Linked DNA regions of Homo sapiens: region 2 is linked to region 1. Evidence: promoter capture Hi-C in 16 types of primary human blood cells and fetal thymus (Javierre and others, 2016). All regions are on one chromosome and are shown on one strand. The core of a region is centred on a gene start or on the middle of the fragment in contact, and the rest is flanking DNA. Distances in the headings are between cores, read along the strand shown.

Region 1 (4,157 bases), core at 965-3,464:
GGGGAGACTGAAATGTGTTCAGAATGTCTAGAGCAGTGCTGTCTAATAGAACTCTATGTTTATGAAAAATGTCTCAGGCTGGCACGGTGGCTCACGCCTGTAATCCCAGCACTTTGGGAGGCTGAGGTGGGCGGAGCTCCTGAGGTCGGGAGTTTGAGACCAGCCTGACCAACATAGAGAAACCCCGTCTCTACTAAAAATACAAAATTAGCCAGACATGGTGGTGCATGCCTGTAATCACAGCTACTCAGGAGGCTGAGGCAGGAGAATCACTTGAACCTAGGAGGCGGAGGTTGCGGCGAGCTGAGATCGTGCCATTACACTCCAGCCTGGGCAACAAGAATGAAACTCCGTCTCAGAAAAAAAAAAAAAAAAGAAAGAAAAAAAGAAAAATTTGTCATCTGTGTGCTATCCGATATGGTAGCCACTAGCCACATGTGCCAACTGAGCATTTAAAATGTGGCTAATGGGACAGCAGAACTGAATGTTTACTGTTATTTTATTATGTATTTATTTTTGAGACAGAGTTTCCCTCTTGTTGTCCAGGCTGGAGTGCAATGGCACAATCTTGGCTCACTGCAAGCTCTGCCTCCCAGGTTTAAGCGATTCTCCTGCCTCAGCCTCCCAAGTAGCTGGGATTACAGGCACGTGCCACTACGCCTGGCTATTTTTTTTTATTTTTAGGAGAAATGGGGTTTTGCCATATTGGCCAGGCTGGTCTCGAATTCCTCACCTCAAGTGATCCACCTACCTTGGCTTCCCAAAGTGCTGGGATTACAGGTATGAGCCACCGCGCCTGGACTAATTTTGTATTTTTAGTAGAGATGGGGTTTCACTATGTTGGTCAGGCAGGTCTGGAACTCCTGACCTCAGGTGATCCACCCACCTCAGCTTCCCAAAGTGCTGGGATTACAAGCGTGAGGCCTATTATAATTGATTTAAATCTAAACAGTCATTGTGGCTAGTGACTATCTTATTGGATGGCGCAGGCCTAGAGTGTAATGTGCATGACAGGGTTGCCATGAGTGACGGATAGCGATGGAGAAGGGCATCTGGACTTTGAGGGCTCATGGTATGGAGTTTGCATTTTATTCCAAGCACCATGGGTGAGGTTTTGTGATTAAGTCAAGGCGTTAGGTGACCTGGTTTTCTTTTTTTTTCTTTTTTGACACAGAGTCTCGCTCTGTTGTCCAGGCTGGTGTGCAGTGGCACAATCTCAGCTCACTGCAACTTCCGCCTCCCAGGTTCAAGCGATTCTCCTGCGTCAGCCTCCCAAGTAGCTGAGATTACAGGTGCCCACCACCATATCCAGCTAATATTTGTATTTTTAGTAGAGATGGGGTTTTGCCATGTTAGCCAGGCTGGTCTTGAACTCCTGACCTCAAGTGATCCATGCACCTCGGCCTCCCAAAGTGCTGGGATTACAGGTGTGAGCCACTGCGCCCGGCCCTGGTTCCCATTTTTAAAAGGTCACTTCAGTTGCTATAAGGAGAAATGGATTATGAGTGTGGGGCAAGAATGAAGCAGGGAGACCAGTTTGGAGGTGGCTGCAGTTGCCCAGGGGAGCAGTGATAGTGGCTTGGACCACTCAGAAAGACAAATTTTGGAGGAAGAGCTGATGCCAGGTTTTGGGAGTGAGGGAGAGAGATTCCTAGGGCTACTTCGGTGGTGGTTGGGTCCCCAAGCTCCAAGACTGAGTCCAGACCAGGGCCCCGTTGGTGGTGAGGTCTGATTTTAGCAGTGCGTGCCCACCTCCTTGTCTCCACCTGCTGGCTGGTGCTTGGAGCACCTTTAGGGGAACTTTAGCCATCAGAGTCCTGGGGTCAGGAGGCTGGGAGAAGGTCCTGGGAGGTGGGAAAGTCCCCCAACTGCTGGGTGGATGGGTGGGTGGGACTGTGTTCCCAGGGGCATCTGCTGGGCTGAGCCTCTCCCTGGGGGCTGTCCACATCAGCTTTCTCCCCTGCCATGGGTCAACTCAGGCCCATTTATGGGCCACACGGCTGCTTGGAAGGCATGTGGTGGAGAAGGGGAGGAGATAGCTGTCAGTGGACTTGGGGAAGAATCCCCCATCCATGGCAGCTTCCATGGGTGGCAAGTCCCCAGCATCCAAGGGCTGCCTCTGAGTGTCACCCACCCCCACCTGAGACCTTAGTGGCTAGAAGGGGGAGGGGTGGGGGTGGAGCCTGATTCGCAGCAGGGTGTGTCCAGATGGTCAGTCTCTGGTGGCTAGCCTGTCCTGACAGGGGAGAGTTAAGCTCCCGTTCTCCACCGTGCCGGCTGGCCAGGTGGGCTGAGGGTGACCGAGAGACCAGAACCTGCTTGCTGGAGCTTAGTGCTCAGAGCTGGGGAGGGAGGTTCCGCCGCTCCTCTGCTGTCAGCGCCGGCAGCCCCTCCCGGCTTCACTTCCTCCCGCAGCCCCTGCTACTGAGAAGCTCCGGGATCCCAGCAGCCGCCACGCCCTGGCCTCAGCCTGCGGGGTAAGTCGGTGGGCAATGCTGGGGACGTTGGAGGGGGCCGGGTCTCCAAGCCTGACAGTGAATGATGGGGTGGGGAAGGCCTAGTGGGCTCCTGGCTTCTACAGCCTGGAGCCAGGGTCTGTGTGGGGCTCCAGCACCCTCTCCCTGGACCTCCACACCCCTTCCTCTGCTGCCAGGGTGGGTGAGGGTCCCAGGAGGTGGGGTGGGGGCTGGACAGACAACTGTTGCTGCTGGGGCTTGGGAGTCTAGGGCTGGAGGAATGGGCCAGGGTTTGGTTGGGGACACAGATGGGCTAAACGGTATGAAACGGAAAGAGCACCCTTCTGCCCCAGTGTGTGTAGAAAGGGTGGTGGGTCACATCTGCAAACTGAGGCAGCCAGGCAGCTCCCCACCTCCCATGTTTCCATGGGAAAATACCCCACCCGGGTCCCCAGGGCCTGGTCCCAGCCTACCCTCTCCACTTCCCTCTGCTGGTGCCGCTCCTCTCTGCTCTCTGCCCCCTGCCCCCTGCCCCCTTCTCCACCCTTCTGTCTCCTTACCACTCTTTGACTCCTTCTTCTTTCTGATCCTGCTCACTGGGCCCATGAGGGTTCCCCAACCCTGACCGAGGCCCCACCCTTGCCAAGTGATGGAGGCTGTGGTTTCAGTTTTCCTGTGAGGGTGAGATTGTGCTGTTTGCTGAGCTTCCTAGGCCAGCCTAGGGCCTGAGGCAGCGTGGTGGAGAGAGCCTGGGCCACAGGCTAGGGGCCTCCCTCCCTTCGTGAAGCCCCCAGAGGCCCTGAGGCACACAAAGGTAGTATTCGATGCCTTCAGAGCTGAATCAGACTGAAAATATAGACAGACCCTGAAAGGCTTTGAAAACGGAAGAGGAACGTCATGGTAGACGCATGGTGTCAGATCCGGCTCTGCCAACAACTGGCGACCTTGGGAAAGCCACTCCCCCTTTCTAAGCCTTAGTAGTCTTGGCAGCAAAATGAAGGGTTTGATAGTCTAGTGGTTTTCCCAGTTATTTCTTCTTAGAGCTCCCCTTCTTTGGCGAGGGGTTGAGTGACTGGCCCCATCCCAGTCATCGCACTTTTATCTGTTGGAATATTGGCTGCCAGGCAAGACGTTGTGTAAAGAAAGGGTTGTGCTGTTAATGTAAATGGTAACAGGGGTTGTGACCCCTCAGATTCCAGGAAGTCCCAGAGGAAAAGTCGGGGACAGTCATGGCTCTTCCTGGGGGACAACATCAAAAGGGTGGCCCTATTGGTTCCCTGTTCCTCACCCCACAGGCCTCCCTCCCTCTCCTCACCCCTGCTGCTCATCCCTCCTGGCCCACTTCCCCTGCATTGGGGCTGGGCTCCCACACAGTGGGTGGACCTACTTGCACTTGGCATTTTTGCCATTAGAAGTAATGAGAAGTAATGGCAAAAACCGCAATTTTTTTTTTTTTTTTTTTTGAGACAGAGTCTTGCTCTGTTGCCCAGGCTGGAGTGCAGTGGTGCCATCTTAGCTTCCGGGTTTAAGCAATTCTCCTGCCTCACCCTCCCTAGTAGCTGGGATTACAGGCACAAGCCACCATGCCCAGCTAATTTTTGTATTTTTTTTAGTGGAGATGGGGTTTCACCATGTTGGTCAGGCTGGTCTCTAACAGCTGACCAGCCAGCCTCAGCCTCCCAAAGTGCTGGGATTACACCC
Region 2 (4,157 bases), core at 1,214-3,713, 77 kb after region 1:
CCACACAGGGCAGCTCCAGGCCCACGGCCCTTGCATCCCCAGCCAGGGGTTAAGGGAGCCCAACAGGAGCCCAGAAGCCCAGAGCCTGAGGACCTGCTGCTTTCACAGAAAAGGGGGAAGTCTGATAAGCCCCCTCCCACCCCCCCATCAGCCCTCCCAGTCCTGCAGCTGAGGCGGGTACCAGGACACCAATAAGACCCATGTGCAGATGTCTGAGGAAATGCTTCTTGTTTCAAGGATCCCACAGTGGGGCTGCAGGGGCTTATCTACTCTCCCTCAAGGCAGGGAGAAGCTCAGTGTCCCCAGGATGTGGAATCACACTCAGCCCTACAGGGACTGGGGAGCCCAAAGTATCTGCCCACTTTGGGTCCAGTCTCCTCCCGTGGGCCTCCAAGCGGCCCTCCATCATGCAAGCTTCGCTCTGGTCTTGCACCCTCCAAGAAGTGCTTGCCAGCTCCCTCTGTTCTTCTGTATCCCCCAAAGCACCCATTGCAGGGTGGGGGAAACAGCATGTGATCAGGAAAACCTTACTGTATGGTGTGTAAATAGGATACCATGGTCTGGAAAACCCAATATTCTGTTTAAAAGTGAAAGAGTTACTATAAAGGCCATATGTCAGCTTCCAATTTTCAAAAGACAAAGAAATACACACTGCTAAAGTTCAGTGGTGCATAATGTCATCTTTCTTTGATGACTGAACTCAGAGAAGGCACATGGGGATCCAGCAGCGTCTCGGGCATCATTCTGGAAGTTGTTGGGGAAAACAGAGGCAGAAGCAGAAGTCCCACATCTTCCCAAGTCCCCTCGTCTCTGCTTGCCTCTCCCTGTGCAGTGCACAGCTTGGGGACACATACTTTAGGGTAAGAGCGCACCAGATACAAAGGTGGGGAAGAGTGCTGCAGAACCCAAGAGGGATGTGGGTCTGATTAGATTTTGGAAGCTCCTCCCAAGAAGGTGCTCCTACAGCCTCTTTCAGCAGCGACTGGAAAACCCCAGAAAGGTCACCTGAGATTTTCCCTCTGCCATCCACGGTAGACTCCACCTCTAATGGGGTCAGTCTAGCAAGAATATGGGGCCTGGATTGTCTACCCACCAAAGCCAGGCCAAGACAACCTGCTTGGTGATGCAGGAGAGCAGCTTTGCACTCCCCTGCCTGTCTTATACTCAACAAAATCCATGGCATGGGCCATGCTCCTCTCCCCACCAAAGAAACTGACAAAGGAAAACAAGCCACAGAGAGGTGAGTGATAGCATTAGCCTCAGGGCAGCCCCAAAGCAGAGGGAACTGGCCAATTCCGCAACATCTGTCCCTAGCCAGTGGGACAGGCACAGGCTAAGGACAGAGTCCTGGCAGTCTCCTGAAGTTGCTGCTGGCCAGGTGGTCACACAGGGCACCAAATCCAGCTCCCCTGTCTCTACCGCTTTCCGCAGGGGCTCATGGTTGAGGATCTGCTGAAGTTAGTCAGGGGAGAGGAAACAGTCTCCTCCTTGAACTACAATCCAGGATGCCTCCCAGGCGAGTGAAGGACCTAGGGACTGGAATCTCATTGGCCCCAGGGCTGTGCCCCTGGACTCGCTCTCGGGAAGCCAAGCCAGGTCCAACTGATAACCGCATTCCTTGAGGACCCTCGGCCGGGAGTGACTGCCAGTGGGCAGACAGGAAGAAAAGAGCCCTGGCCCAGATCAGGCAGGCATCCCTGCTTCCCCGCCCACCGACTGTCCCCGGAGACCAGCCTCCTTCTCTGCCTGCGGAGGAGAGCAGTGGGGACATTATGCCAACAGGTCCCCTTCGGCGGGCCTCACCCGGCCAGCCTTCCTCCGCCCTGCCCTGAGGCCCCACATTCAGCGGAAGCGCCGAGGCACCTGCTGCCAGACAGGGCTCCATCCCCGCGGAAGGGGCCCCTGGGCGGTGCCCCTCGGTGCCCCCGGCTTCCTCGGTTAGGGATGGGGCGCCCCCCCCGGCCCAGCACGCCCCCTGGCCCGGCGCGCCCCCCGCGCCCCCTCCCCGCGCTCACCTGGCGCAGGTGCTGCAGCAGCGTCCCCGCCTCCTCCCGCCGGCCCTGGCGCACCATCCGCAGCAGCTCCTGGACCATGCCGACTCGCCGGTGGTAGGGGGGCATCCCCGCGCCCGCGCGCCCCGCCTTGTCCCCGGCGCGCAGCAGCAGCGACGCCCAGAAGTCCGGCCGTTCGCGTCGGGGGCCCGGCGCGGCGCCGGGGCTGGCTCTCTCCGCCAGGCTGCCCTTGGTCTGCCGGGTGCCCATGCCGCCGCCGCCCGCCGGGACTCTCCGCTCTGGGCCGCGAGGCCGCGTCCCCGCCAACCGCCCGCCCCTCGGCCGCCCGTGCGCGCTCGCCTCCCGGGCTGCAACTTTGGGGGAACTGTTGCGCGCGGGCGTCGCGGGGGCGGGCGGGCGGGCGGCTGTCGGCGCTCCCCGCGCTCCTCCCTCTTGGCTACCCGGGCGCGCTCCCCGGGCGCTCGCCGCCGGCCCGCCCGCCGGCCCCGCCCCGGCCCGGCTCGGCCCGCCCCGCCCCCCGCCTCCGCGCCGGAGCTCCGCGGCGTCGCGCGCCTCCCTCTTCTCGGGCTCCCGCTCCTTCCCGCCCCGCGGCTCCGGGCTGGGGACCACCACCAGGCGCCCCCTGCCTGCGTCCTCTCGGCAGTCGCGCCTCCTGCGGGCGGCAGTGCTGCGCTTCCCGGGGCCGTGGCGCGGGGGCGAGGGGAACAGGCAGGCCCCATGGGCCGTCGCTCTCGGTCCCCACCGGGCTCCCCGACGCTTCCACCACCGCGCGCCCGGTGCGTCGGGCGAGATGGGGAAAGTTTGGAGCATGGGGGTGTGTGTGTTGGGGGGCTCTCTTAGGCCCAGAGTCGGGTTTCTCAAGGTGGGTTCCGCTGAGCCTCAGCGCCCAAATCGTCGGAGGCGCTGGTTAAAAACGCAGGCTCTAAGGCCTCCACCGAGACCTACTGAATGATAATCTCCTCGGTGGGGCCTGGGATCCGCCTTTTTAGCCAGCATGTTGGGTGATTCCCATGCACGCTCCTTTGAGACCTGGCCTGCTTGCAGGGCGCTGTAGTGGTGTGGTTGGTGCGTAAACCTGGAAACTGTGCGAGCTTATGGGTTGTGTGCGTGCCCTTCTATGGAGAGGGCCTGTTGCTTCCATCATGCTCTCAAAGCATCTGGACCGGAGAGGTGTGAACTCCTGTGTTCTCTTGTTCTCACTCTCACAGCCCTGGAGAAGGGTCCCTGGGGTAGTCCTGGTACAACAAAGCAAACGCACGTCTGCGAGTAGGCCCAGCGGTACACCCTGCTGGCCCACCTTCCTCCCCGTGCCTCTGCCAGGCCCAGTCTGTAAGGGACCAGAGCCCTGGGATCTCATGGTGTTGCCAGGGCTTGCCAGAGTGAAGGCGAAGGCAGGTGGGGGAGCTTCTCTGTTGCAGACCACAGGCCGCCCTGGTCCCAGCGCAGGGCAGAAGCAATTGTGCAAGCTCGCCTCTGACCCCAGCTCTGGGTGTTGCTTGAGGGTGTAAGGGCACGTGGGCTGTAGGGGCAGGAGGCTGGATCCCAAATCACAGGGAGCTGAGCCCCACTACTTAGTGAGCACTGAGTATCAGGCGAGTCTTCAGCTTCTTGAGTCCTGATTCTTCCTGTCAGGCTAGGATAATAACACTGCCAAGAATTGGGAGAGTAAACTCGGTGGACACTGCTAAAGGAAAAAATTATTTAATGACATGAGTTAAAGCATCGTAAGGAAGACTTTATTCAGGACCATTACCATAGGTGTAGGGACCTCTGCTATGAGATTTTGCAGTTGCAGGGAGAGAGAGATTGAGCTCAACTCCAATTACAGCATGGGCAAGTGGGAATTCGTTGCTAAGGAGCAGGGTGGGGGTCAGCGGATAGAAACTTAATAAGGGAAACATCAGGGCTGAGGGGGATTCTGGCTAAACAGGTTGTATGGAGCACCCTTGACATAAGTAACTCCATCTTAGAAAAAGGGTCCATTTTACATTTGAAAAAGCCTCATGCCAACAGGAACCAGATGTTCGCCTAATCAATAAAGACTACACCCCACCAGATAAAGACATAAACAGGCACACTCTTTGCTATCAGTCCTCACCAGAGGATTCTGTAGCCATAAAAAGAGCAGGACTTCAGCAACTGGAG

The links. The method cuts DNA at HindIII sites, captures the fragments that hold promoters and counts their contacts. A CHiCAGO score of 5 or more calls a contact.
Region 2: the fragment with the promoter of LRRC75A here is called in contact with the fragment with the promoter of TRPV2 in region 1 in 1 of 17 cell types (neutrophils); the score reaches 5.2 in neutrophils.

The regions. Positions count from the first base shown.
Region 1 is chr17:16,413,357-16,417,513 of GRCh38, forward strand. It overlaps TRPV2 (transient receptor potential cation channel subfamily V member 2), which reads left to right and starts at 2,215. Exons shown (of 15, transcript NM_016113.5): 1 at 2,215-2,477. RefSeq lists enhancers at 2,046-2,165, 3,116-3,185, 3,446-3,495, 3,836-3,945 and a silencer at 2,886-3,005. The HindIII fragment of the contact is 16,870 bases long and covers 1-4,157 here.
Region 2 is chr17:16,489,730-16,493,886 of GRCh38, forward strand. It overlaps LRRC75A (leucine rich repeat containing 75A), which reads right to left and starts at 2,464. Exons shown (of 4, transcript NM_001113567.3): 1 at 2,016-2,464. The coding sequence starts at 2,261. All of the region lies in intron 2 of LOC124903936 (a long non-coding RNA gene), which reads left to right. RefSeq lists silencers at 2,067-2,126, 2,237-2,286, 2,377-2,716. The HindIII fragment of the contact is 6,898 bases long and covers 413-4,157 here.